3 separate regions of the Homo sapiens genome follow, and regions 2 and 3 are each linked to region 1. Evidence: promoter capture Hi-C in human tissues and cell types (Jung and others, 2019). All regions are on one chromosome and are shown on one strand. Each heading gives the region's core, a stretch centred on a gene start or on the middle of the fragment in contact. The rest is flanking DNA. Distances are from core to core; before and after follow the strand shown.

Region 1 (3,539 bases), core at 491-2,990:
CAATCTCATTCCAGTTACTCTAGGGGATGCAAAGAAATTAAAGCTTGAGTCATGGAAAAGGTGGAGCTGAGCTGTAGTCTCCGAGCAAACAGAATCTGGTGCCTACTAACAAAAGCCTCAGAGCTTACAACCCTCCTCCCTTTAGGGAAACCAGCTGCTTCTAGATGATCTGGGAAATCAATCAAGAGGCCACTCTAACTCTATACGGCTGAAAGTTGTAATGGGGGAGGACAGAATTCCATTTCTCCAGTCTCACCTCGATGACGCCTTCGGGCTCCATCCCATCGGGGCCATTGTCTCTGGATCTGTTGGTTTAAAGCATAAGTTTTGTCCCCTGCCCGACCGAAGCACTCAGAAATCCTGACAGCCGGGCTCTGTCAGGAGTGGCCTGCATGATGCCATCAATCTGCTGTCCCAGATCCAACTCCCACCAGCTCCCAAAAAATACCCAAAGGAGGAGTTTCTATAAAACTGAGGCATTTGCCCCATGCAGGCAGCGGCTCAGGCCAGGCCACCCCCGACATAAGGGGGTGACCCTTTCTGAAGACAGGCCGGCAGGCGTGCCGCCGCGCTCACGGTGCCCAGAGGTGGTGCTTGCCGCCGGGTCCACGTGGGCCCGACCCAGCCGCTTAAAGCCCAAGCGCGTGCACCTCCCACCGCAGCACCAGCGCGCTGGAAGTCCCGCCCTTCACCTCCCAGATCGGAGGGTAGGACATCCCCTTCCCCCCACGTCATCCCGCCCGCGCCCTCCCCCACTCCCTCCAGCCGAAGCCCCCCCCTCGCGTTGCCCGGATGTGGGAGGCCGCGGGCGGTGGCGGCCTCGCGCACAATGAGCCCAAGCCGAGCTAGCAAAGGGGGAGATTGCACAACACTTAGAAGCGAAGCAGACTGGGGGAGGGGAACGCCTCAGGCCACCATGTGCTCGCTCCCTCGACCACCCGGCGGCGTCTCCCACCCCTCCATGAACAATCCACATCCCGCCCGCCCCCGTCGCGAAGTAGCGTCGCCCTCCCATACCTCAGGCCGCTCACCCCCGAAGGAAGGTGGACCTGCCCATCCGCAGTTTGCCAATAGCCCGGCTTGTGCGGCAAAATGGACCCGCCCGCCCGGCGCCGGGTGGGCTCCTGGTGCCTCACGCGGCCGCTCCTCGGGGTTAGGCTCAGTCCTGGCCGTCAAGAAAACCAGCACACTGAACGGCCGGTTTCTTCTCCCCGACCCGTGTTTTAGCCGCGACGAAGTGACTGGATCTAAGGACCAGGCACCCCCGCCTCTCGCGAGTGGTACCGTCAGAATGCTCCGGAACCCCGCGCGCCGTCCCTCCCCCGGCACAGGGAGGCAACCGGACCTGCCGGCTCTGGGCCACACATAGTGGCGGCCGCCTCCACCTTTCTTTCCCACGCCAGGTCGCGACCCCGTCTCGCCACTCAGCGCCGGGGCTTCGCGCATGGCACCGCCTCGGGTCGAGGCCTCGTAACAGACCTCGCACGCCTGACCCTAGCCGGGCTGTCCCTACCCTCCGCCTCGACCTGGTGGCCGCGTCGGCCGTGGGTCTTCCCCCTCGCCCCTCCAAGTCGGACCCTCCCCCCACCCGGTTCGGTTTCTCCCGCAACCCTGGTGGGCCTCTCAGCTACCCCCGGCGGGCCCGTCGGAAGGGGGCGGCAAAATAAGCAGCCACAATCTCTTGCAAATGCCTTTCTTACCGGGAATCCTGGCTCGCAGACATGATCCTTAGAAACTAGGGCGGAGTGCCCGCCTATCGACAACTTATAGAGCGCCCGACTCCGCCCCGGCCATCGCATTGGTTTGGCCGCCCCGGCCCCGCCTGCCGGCGCTCAGCAACTCGGCATGACGTTAGTTCCTAGTCGCTCCGGCCCGCAGGCACCATTGGATAACTCGAGTGCCTATCAAGGTGAAGGCCCGCCCCGCAGCCTCATTGGCTGGAGGGCCCGCCTTTCTCGCCGGTACGGAAGTGACATAGAAGAGTCAGGCCTCGAGGCCTGGCAGCCATCTTGGGGCCCTGCACTCTCACACGTGCGGAGGCGACAGTGCCTTGGTCATGTGGCTCCGTAGGCCCTATCACGCAAGGGGGGCGAGGTCTCAGCCTCCAGAGGCTTCCGGGCTCTGGGGGTTATCACTTCCCTTTACTTCTGCTCCCGGTCTCCACTGGACTCAAATGTTATTTGTTTTCCCCTGTAGCAGAGATGGATTCGACACTGCCTGGACGTGTGCCAGGGATGAAGGAATCAACAGCGATATCGTAGGGATGGGAGGATTCCCCTGGCTGGATGGTGGAGGGATGGAAGAAAACTGTAAAGGGCTTTGGGGTACTATCATGAATCCTGGTTGGTCCCCTCCCCAGTCCCTTGTGTCCAGTTCCCCAGCTTCCCTCTCGGATGCCCTTATTCTTGAGGCTTATCTACTTTCCCTCCTTCCTGCTCTCTGCTCCCATCTCGGGGATTTGTTTGGGTGAAGACAAGGTGTTGGCAGTGCCTGAGCCAGGGATGGAAAGCTGAACCCTTTAGTCTCAAGAGACTGGCTGGAAGGTCTGAGCTAAGCATATCCACTAATTTGAAGCCCCTTAAGGAAGACCACCACTTACGTATCAACAAAGGATCCTTTATTGACCAGAGCAGGACCGTGGCATTTATATATTTTTATATATATATATATATATATATATATATATATATATATATATATATATATATATATATATATATATATATAAAAGTTTGAAGATCTGGCAGGCAGTGATCCTATTGTCCGCCCACCACCCCCAGCACTGATTTCCTGCTCCCTGCACGGGGAAGGGGGAGGATGACTGCTCCACCCAGGCCACAGGGCCACACTCCCCTGCAAACAGAGGAAGAAAGGGGCTTTTCTGTAGCCACCCCCTGCACATCAGAAATCAACAAGTATTCTCTCAAAGAAAAAAAAATACAGAAATTGAAACATTTAAATATGAAAAACCAAAGGGAAGTGAGTGGGAAGAGGCAAGAGAGGAAAGGAACTGGAGTTTCTTGGGAAGGGACTCCCATGTCTCCCTTCCCATTTATGGGCTTGGGGTCTGGGGTACGAGGCTCACACAGTGAGTTTGCAGTGACACAGCTCCTTGTAGATCTGCCGACGAAGTTTGGGCATGTCCTGCTGGGTGAAGCTGAATGGCTGAGACAGGGCCAGATGCTTGCAGTACTGGGTGTTAACAAAGCAAGCCATGAGAAACCCCCCGTGTCAGGACCTGTGCTACACATTTCATATGAGATGTGTCTCCATCCTTCAGAGAACATCCCCAAAGGGAGCCAGGGTCCCACAGCCTGGGGTTCAAAAACAGCCTGACTCTAAAGCTAGTGTTCTTACTTGATAGAATGTTTTAGATGGAGAAAATACACTGAGTTGGAGGTTAGCAGGGAGCTCTATGAAGGCCAGAGGCCCAAGACTAGAGACCCAGTCCCAATGTGGGATGGAGAAGTCCAGAAGAGAACCAGTGAAGCCAGTGTTTTGGTGTTCTAAAACAGATTACTTCCTGCTCCACAACTGAC
Region 2 (3,539 bases), core at 759-3,258, 450 kb before region 1:
CTTAGCCCAGTTTCTAGCACTTAGCAAGGAAAATAGTACTCCTCCCTCCCCCACACACTCAGAAGATGACCTCACCTTCCACTTTCTTGAAAAAACAGAAACTCTTGATGGAAAGTCCTGGAATGTGCAGCTCCTCCCAGGCCCAAGCTGTCCTATTCTAATCCTCTTTCAAAGGCTTCCCTTCTTCCCATCCAAGGCAATCACTCCGCAGTGCTTGGATCTATCCCCACTGGACACAGGAGCCTCATTCCCCCGTCACCCCATCCCATGTCTCCCTCACAGTACTGGCTTCCCCCCTTCAGCATGCTGATGATCTTAAACCTCTCCCTTCTTCAAAAGAGGAGCACAGGACCTCCAGCTCTGCTTCCCTTCTGGCTCCCAGTGGAGCATCTTGTACAGCTGCATCATCACAGGGCATGTCCTCTGGCCTTCTCTGGGAAGCATTTACTCAGGGAAGGACCAGTTTCTGGGATCAGCTCTGGTCTTGAGATAATCTGAGATCATCTATTTCAGCCACCCCATGGCTGGGCCTCTTCTCCAAGCGCCAGAAAGGCTTCCACCCCTTGGCATCATTGAGGATAAGAGCTCAGCACTGGACCCTCCTCATTGCCTTTTCAGAGCCTGAAGCAGTCTGGGGCCTTCCAGGGCAGACCTTCAAAGCTGGGTATGCAGTCCCTCAGGCCTTGTTTCCACTGGGGCCGCGACCTACCCTGCCCTCGCCTCTGCCCTGGAAGAGAGTGTGGCAGGAGCTCTGGGTGCCCATCCCTTTATCCTTGGATAAAGGCTAAGCCCTGGGAGAGGTGACCCCAGGGACTGTGGTTGAGGACCAGCCAGTCCATGCAGGAGAACCCCTGTGGCCTCAGCGGCCCCTGGTTGATAGTTGCAATAGGAATATGCCGATGGAGGCATGCAGCTTGGGAGTGGGTGATCAAGGCTGAGAGAGAGGCCTAGGAGATGACATGCTGGCCAGAGACAAAGGGAATGATGTTGAGGCGAGGCCATAAAGTGCGTGGCTATGGATAGGTGTCTGCTTGGCATAGTGGTTTGGGTGAGGAGGTGGAGTAGATGGGAAAGCCACCTGTTGAACTTGCAGCCATCAGCACATCGTAATCAAATGGACCAACATTTCATCACCGTGAAAACATCACGAAGGTTTTTGTTTGTTTGTGACAGTCTCGCTCTGGAATGCAGTGGTGTGATCTCAGCTCACTGCAACCTTGACCTTCCGGGCTCAAGTGATCATCCTGCCTCAGCCTCCGGAGTAGCTGGGACTGCAGGTGTGCACCACCATGCTTGGCTAATTTTTGTGTTTTGTAGAGACAAGATTTTGCTATGTTGCCCAGGCTGGTCTAGAACTCCTAGGCTCTAGTGATTCTCTTACCTCAGCCACCCCAAGTGCTGGGATTACAGGCATGAGCCACTGTGCCCAGCCATCGTGAGGGTTTTGAGGTATGAAAGAAGAAGAGAGAGAGAGAGAGAGAGAGAGAGAAAAAGAAAGAAGAGAAAGAAAAGAGAAAGGAAAGAAAGGAAGAAAGAAAGAAAAGAAAGAACCCAACGCAACCTGGCTTAAGCAAAGAAAATAATTTGCTGGCCCATGTTGCTTAAACAGCCGGACTTGGCTTTAGGCCCAGTGAGGTATCCCAGCTCAGACAGTAGCCATCAGGACTTTGTCTCTCTCCATCTGCCAGTTCAGCTCTGTCTTTGTGGTGGCAAGGATCTCTCAATGTCCCATCCTCTCAGCAACCCCCCAAGAAGACAATTTCTCCCCATGGCTTCAAACAACGTCCCAGCACCGAGCTTCATCAGCCTGGCCCAGCTCATCTGTCTTTGAGGCCAGAGGAACGGAATGATTGGGCTGGCCTGAAGGGGGAAGTCAGCAGTCAGTTCTAGCCACTTCCACTGGGATTAAGAATGGGGCACAGATGGCTGCCCACTGCCCAGCAGGATGGATGTAGGAAGGCAGCACAGTCGATGTCCATTACAGGTCATCCTGTCTGGGACATTGGGCCTGGCACGGGAACAGCTGGGCTCCCGGAAGACTTAGGGGCCAGTCACCCACTGGTGATTTTGGGATAGTCTCTCCTGCTCTGAAGCTCCAGGGGCAGGTTTGTGAAGGGTCAGAGGTGGAGTGTGGGTTGTTGATGAGGTCCTGCCCAGAGACCAGTGGACCTCACCTTTCCCATCTGGGGGCCCTGTTCCTTCAGTCTTGGACTCTGGCTCCCATGTTTGTAGGTTATGGTCCATGGGTCATGGAGTCATGGCATAGACAAGCTCTGTCCTTCTCTTCCTTCTTCCCTCCTGCATACAATCAAGGGATGAAGCCACATCACCCACCTTAAAAGCGTCAGAGACCCTGGTCTTTTCCAGCAGCCTGAGAGGCCCGAGACTTCCCCAACTGGTTCTCTGAGCAGAGGAGTTCCTGGGAGCTGTTGGCCCCGGCCACTTCCCCTCTTCAGGCCATCTCTAAGGTTCAACCCTATCTGAAACCCTCCCTGGAAATGGCAGGGCTGAGCGTTCCAGAGATGGGGGTGTCGAGACTACTCTCCTGGCTAAAAGCAGCACACACCACAACATGGAAGACAGCATGCCTTTATTTCACCCACCCTCCCAGGACCCAAATACCATGGCACATGGCCTGGTATCCACGGTGCAAGGTCCAGAAGAGCCCGAGGAACACAGCCCAGCAATGCAGTGTCACAAATCCCTGCCAAGGAGCAGTTCACCCCACCTCCTCAAAGGGGGGTGCCTGGGGTCCACTGCAGATGGGACAGGGAGCAGGGCCCAGACCCTAAGGAGAAGCACAAAAAAAAAAAAAAAAAAAAAAAAGGCGCCAGGTGAGCCCCGGGACACGCTGTAGAGTCTCTGCCGTGGGATTGAAGCAGCAGCTATGAGAGGTCCCTGCTTTGGCCATCACTGCTCTGCCAGCTACAGAGCCATCTCCAAGGCAAGGACAACCGCAAGTGTGGGCTCCTGGCGCAGGCCAGCTGGCAGAGGTAGTGTAAACACATCTGAAGGTGGGGGATGCCCAGTGACCAAGCCAGGCCCCGGTGCTCTCATGCGCTGGGAGTTGCCCAGGCCACAGGAACAGGGTGGGGAGGACTTGAGTCAGCAGAGCCCTGAGACTGGATAACCGACTGGGTCCAGGAAATAAGATTTCCAGAGAAATGGTGGAAACTGCAGAGAAAGGCAGACAGAGACTGCCAGGCAGAAAGGGGACTGTGGGGACACAAAGACAGGAGAATAGAGCAGAAAGGGAGGCAGGAACAGAGAAAGGAGAGGCTGAGGCACAGAGAGGAGGCTGAGGCTTCATCTTTTGCCTTCTCTTCTCCCACTAGATCTGTGAACTCTGGGGTGGGGGTTCCCCAAGTTCTTCTAGCTGGGGAGGGGTCAGGGCTCTTCTATCACATCTGGTCACTTGAGCTTGAGGCCAGCCTGGGAAGGAGGCTGAGTGAAGGTGGGAAGGAACTGGCTCAGCCCTGCCCACTCCACTTCTACCTTAAACTGGGTCTGCCCTCTGGCTCATCCGCCTCTGCTTCCGG
Region 3 (3,539 bases), core at 670-3,169, 320 kb before region 1:
CGCTTTGTCTTCTTCTCCTTTTTTTCTCGGTGCTTCCTTCTTCGTTTCCGACCCGGTCCGGTTCCATATTCACTGCCCCCACTCTCTGACTTCTCCCGGTACTCATCTCGCTCAGAACCAAATTCCTCCTCACTGTCCTAAGAGAAAGAAATAAAAATAACATTTATTCATCCCTACCATTGCCAGAAACTGTTCTCAGCACATACCATATCTTACCTCTTTTAATCTTCACAACAATCCTGTGATAGTAACTAATTTTTTATCTCCTTTTTTTTTTTGGAGATGGAGTCTTGCTCTGTCACCCATGCTGGAGTGCACTGACGTGATCTCGGCTCACTGCAACCTCCACCTCCCGGGTTCAAGCGATTCTCCTGCCTCAGCCTCCTGTGTAGCTGGGATTACAGACGTACCACCGCGCCCGGCTGATTTTTGTATTTTTAGTAGAGACGGAGTTTCACCACATTGGCCAGGCTTGTCGCGAACTCCTGACCTCAAATGATCTACCCGGCTCAGCCTCCCAAAGTGCTGGGATTACAGGCGTGAGCCACTGCAACCGGCCTTTATCTACTTTTTACAGATGAGGAAACTAAGGCACAGAGAGCCAAATAAACGGCCTGGTATCCTAGACAGAGGAATGCTGGACTCTTGAATTCATACAGTCTTCCAGAGCTTGTGCTTTCAACTGCTTCTCTTTGCTGCTGAGGACACACTGACAACGAGGCTCTTCACTAGGTTGCAGTGAATGAAGTTAGGGTCCCAGATCCCTGAGATACAGGCCAACAGTGGCAGGGAAGTGGGGGGCCCGGGGGATCAAGCCTCCCTGGCTTCAGAACCCCACCCCCACACCAGTAATCAGGACCAGAGAAAATGTAGGTCTCTGAGAATGGGTCTCTTGAGCCTTGCCACAGAGTTAGGAATTCTTGACACTTACACGCTTCTTGCGTTTTCGGGGTTTTCCTGGCTTGTTCTCCTTCTGCTTCTTGGGTCCTCGTTTTCTCTTCTTCACACCCAATGCTGACGGCAGCAGCCGAATGTCATCCTTATCTTTGAAGCAAAAAGCATCAGAAAACCTAAGCCTCTAGGTTTCCAGCCTCTGAGGCCCCTCAACTTGCCCCTTCCCCACCTCGGCAGTTCCCACTCTCTAGGAAGCATTAACTCCTCCAAGCCCTGCCTCCCTTCACTGGATGCAAACAGAAAGTGTTTCGAGTACTCTGGGATGCTCTGGTTCTGAATGGGAGGTCAGGGGTCAGAAGAGAAGAGCAGCCAAACCACTCCCCTCCCTCCCCTCCTACTAACAAGAGACCAGGCTCCAGGCCATGGGCTCTGACTGTGGCAGGTCCTTTCAGTCACCGCCAGGGCTCCTCCTGCCTTCCCCCTCACTTCGCCAGCTGGCATCCTGCCCAGGAACTGGGGAAGCCATGCCCAGCTGCTGGCCTGGCCTGACCCCAGCACTTGGAGTGGGGAGACACAAGCTGGCAGCTCCCTAAGCCAGATGCTGGGGAGGGAGAGCCAAAGGTGGACACCTGGGTTCTCACACTAACACCCTGGGGCCCTGACATCCTTTTGCCAAGAGGGAGGCCTCTATTTACATTTCCTCGGATAATTACCAGGCATCCTGTCACCCCAACACAGTCCTGGAGGAAAAGAAATCCTCAGCTGGTCATTTTTACTTCTTGCCCACAGGATCACAGTGTCTGCCGCCTTCATCACACAGGAGAAAGTCTCCACAATTACCTAAATATTCCTCCTCCCAAGTAGCCTAAAACCTACCTTCAATTCTATTCCCATCTCCCTGCTCCCTTTGGGAACTAGGGGGCCATACCCTTTGTTTCCCGATCTCACCCTTCACCTCCATATTTTGTTCCAGATATCCTGACCCATTCATCTATACGCAGTATGGGAGACCCAAACAAAGATATAGGCACAGACAGACACACCCAGCATATGCCTTCTCAAAAGCACGCGCGCGCACGCGCGCACCCACACCCACACACACTCTCAGGCCCACAAATCCAGAGGATGGCCTGTACCTGCTTCAGCAGGGATAGGTCCCTGGCTTTCTCCCCAGATGTCTCTGCCAGAGGACCCCAGGCCCCCCACCCCATTATCTGTGAAGGTGTCACTCTGTGAAGGCTTGGGGAACGGAACGGAGAGTTACCCCACATAAAGGAAGACAGGATGCCCCACAGACCTGGGGCCCTGGGGCTCTGGTTCACGTCCCTCCCCTACCAAGCACTAGACTAACCAGCCAGACCTGTCTAGTACAGAGAGAGGCAGCCGATGCAAGATGGGAAAGCCTGGGCTTGGCCCAGCCCCTAGCTCTAGGACACACAATCCTTTCTCCTTCCCTCAACAGCCAACGGAAAATTAGCCACAATTAACACCAGAGGCCTCCGTTTCCACTGCCTCAGAGTCGCTGCCTCGCCTTCCTTCAGTGCCACCTTTCCTGCTAACTCCAGCATCCTGTGTCCCCTTGTGCAGGAAGACACTCTAGGACTGTGTGCGTGTGTGCAGGGGGGTGGCTGCCAGAGCCCGGGTGTGAAACGGAATGGGGACTGTAATAGGAAGTCAGCAAGGAAGGCGCCATGCCCCAGCAGCCGGCTCCCCCTGGCCCCAGGGACTTCGGTTGACTTGAACATGGAAACGCAGGCTGCCGAGGCAGTGGCAAGGGCAGGCCAACTGGCTAAGGTTCAGGGACACGGCCTCGGCCACCACCAGCCAGGGGTGGTGCACAAGCCGGTTCACTCTACTCCCCACCCCAGCGGGAGGTTCCCGAACTTGGGCAGGCGTCGGTGGCGGGAGAGGCAAAGCGAGAACGGCAAGGAAAAGCAAGGAAGGGTAATAAAGCAAATCTAAGTCCCAACCTCGGTCTCAGCAGCCACTCAATGCTGGCCTGGAGCCCAGACTCTCCCACATCCCCGGCTCGGATCTCAGGGAGGCAGGGAGGAGAGAGGCGGGGGCCGGAGGGCGCAGGGCGGAGCCTGGCCGCCCGAGCAAGCGGGAGGAGTCTCGGCCGAAGCCTCGCCTCCCGCCCGCCCCTCTCTTCTTCTAATCTCACCATCAATCTCTCACACATATATTTATTTTTTCTCAAATTCCCCTCCCTCCCCCACAACGCACCACCATAATAGGTCTGCTGCACATGCGTACTGCAGGCAGGGGGTGGGTTTGTATTTTCAGACCTTTTGCAAAGAAACTACCAGAATTTTCCGCACCACCCACAATCATTCCCCACCCCCACCCCCAAGGAATCACATCTATATATTATGTTATATTATTTCTCTCGACTTGCCAGAAGGGGGAGGGAGAAGAAATGAGTTTTTGGCTTCCTGCTCCCTTCCCCCACCAACACGACTGCTATTATTTTAAACGTTTAACAATGTAAGGAGACTGGAGAGAGGGGGAAGGGATAAAATTGGTCTTGAGTAAGAATGTAAAACAAAATGGTGAGAATCAAAGCAGTCGGAATGGAAAACAATGGAAATCTCTCCTGTGCACAAATGCATACTCTAGACAAGGAAGAGCGAGGGCAGCCTGAA

The links. The method cuts DNA at HindIII sites, captures the fragments that hold promoters and counts their contacts. A contact is called where the count stands out against the background at its distance.
Region 2: a fragment that was not itself captured here is called in contact with the fragment with the promoter of EIF4A1 in region 1 in 1 of the 25 tissues and cell types used here (IMR-90 fibroblasts).
Region 3: a contact is called between the fragment with the promoter of CHD3 here and the fragment with the promoter of EIF4A1 in region 1, in 1 of the 25 tissues and cell types used here (adrenal gland).

Annotation. Positions count from the first base shown.
Region 1 is chr17:7,571,026-7,574,564 of GRCh38, reverse strand. It overlaps EIF4A1 (eukaryotic translation initiation factor 4A1), which reads right to left and starts at 1,740. Exons shown (of 11, transcript NM_001416.4): 1 at 1,701-1,740; 2 at 257-305; 3 at 1-19. The coding sequence starts at 1,723. SENP3 (SUMO specific peptidase 3) reads right to left here. Exons shown (of 11, transcript NM_015670.6): 11 at 2,596-3,192. The coding sequence ends at 3,082. It overlaps SENP3-EIF4A1 (SENP3-EIF4A1 readthrough (NMD candidate)), which reads right to left. Exons shown (of 22, transcript NR_037926.1): 11 at 3,086-3,192; 12 at 1,701-2,281; 13 at 257-305; 14 at 1-19. RefSeq lists enhancers at 383-512, 1-730, 731-1,486, 1,993-2,062, 2,183-2,242 and 2 more and silencers at 653-792, 1,693-1,752, 1,763-1,822. The HindIII fragment of the contact is 10,064 bases long and covers 1-3,539 here.
Region 2 is chr17:8,019,377-8,022,915 of GRCh38, reverse strand. GUCY2D (guanylate cyclase 2D, retinal) reads right to left here. Exons shown (of 20, transcript NM_000180.4): 20 at 2,574-2,788. Among named protein-coding and RNA genes, the nearest start is that of ALOX15B, 18 kb to the left of the region's middle. The HindIII fragment of the contact is 6,779 bases long and covers 1-3,539 here.
Region 3 is chr17:7,887,169-7,890,707 of GRCh38, reverse strand. CHD3 (chromodomain helicase DNA binding protein 3) reads right to left here and starts at 1,919. Exons shown (of 40, transcript NM_001005273.3): 1 at 1,608-1,919; 2 at 932-1,044; 3 at 1-137. The coding sequence starts at 1,707. RefSeq lists an enhancer at 918-1,487 and a silencer at 2,897-3,056. The HindIII fragment of the contact is 8,044 bases long and covers 474-3,539 here.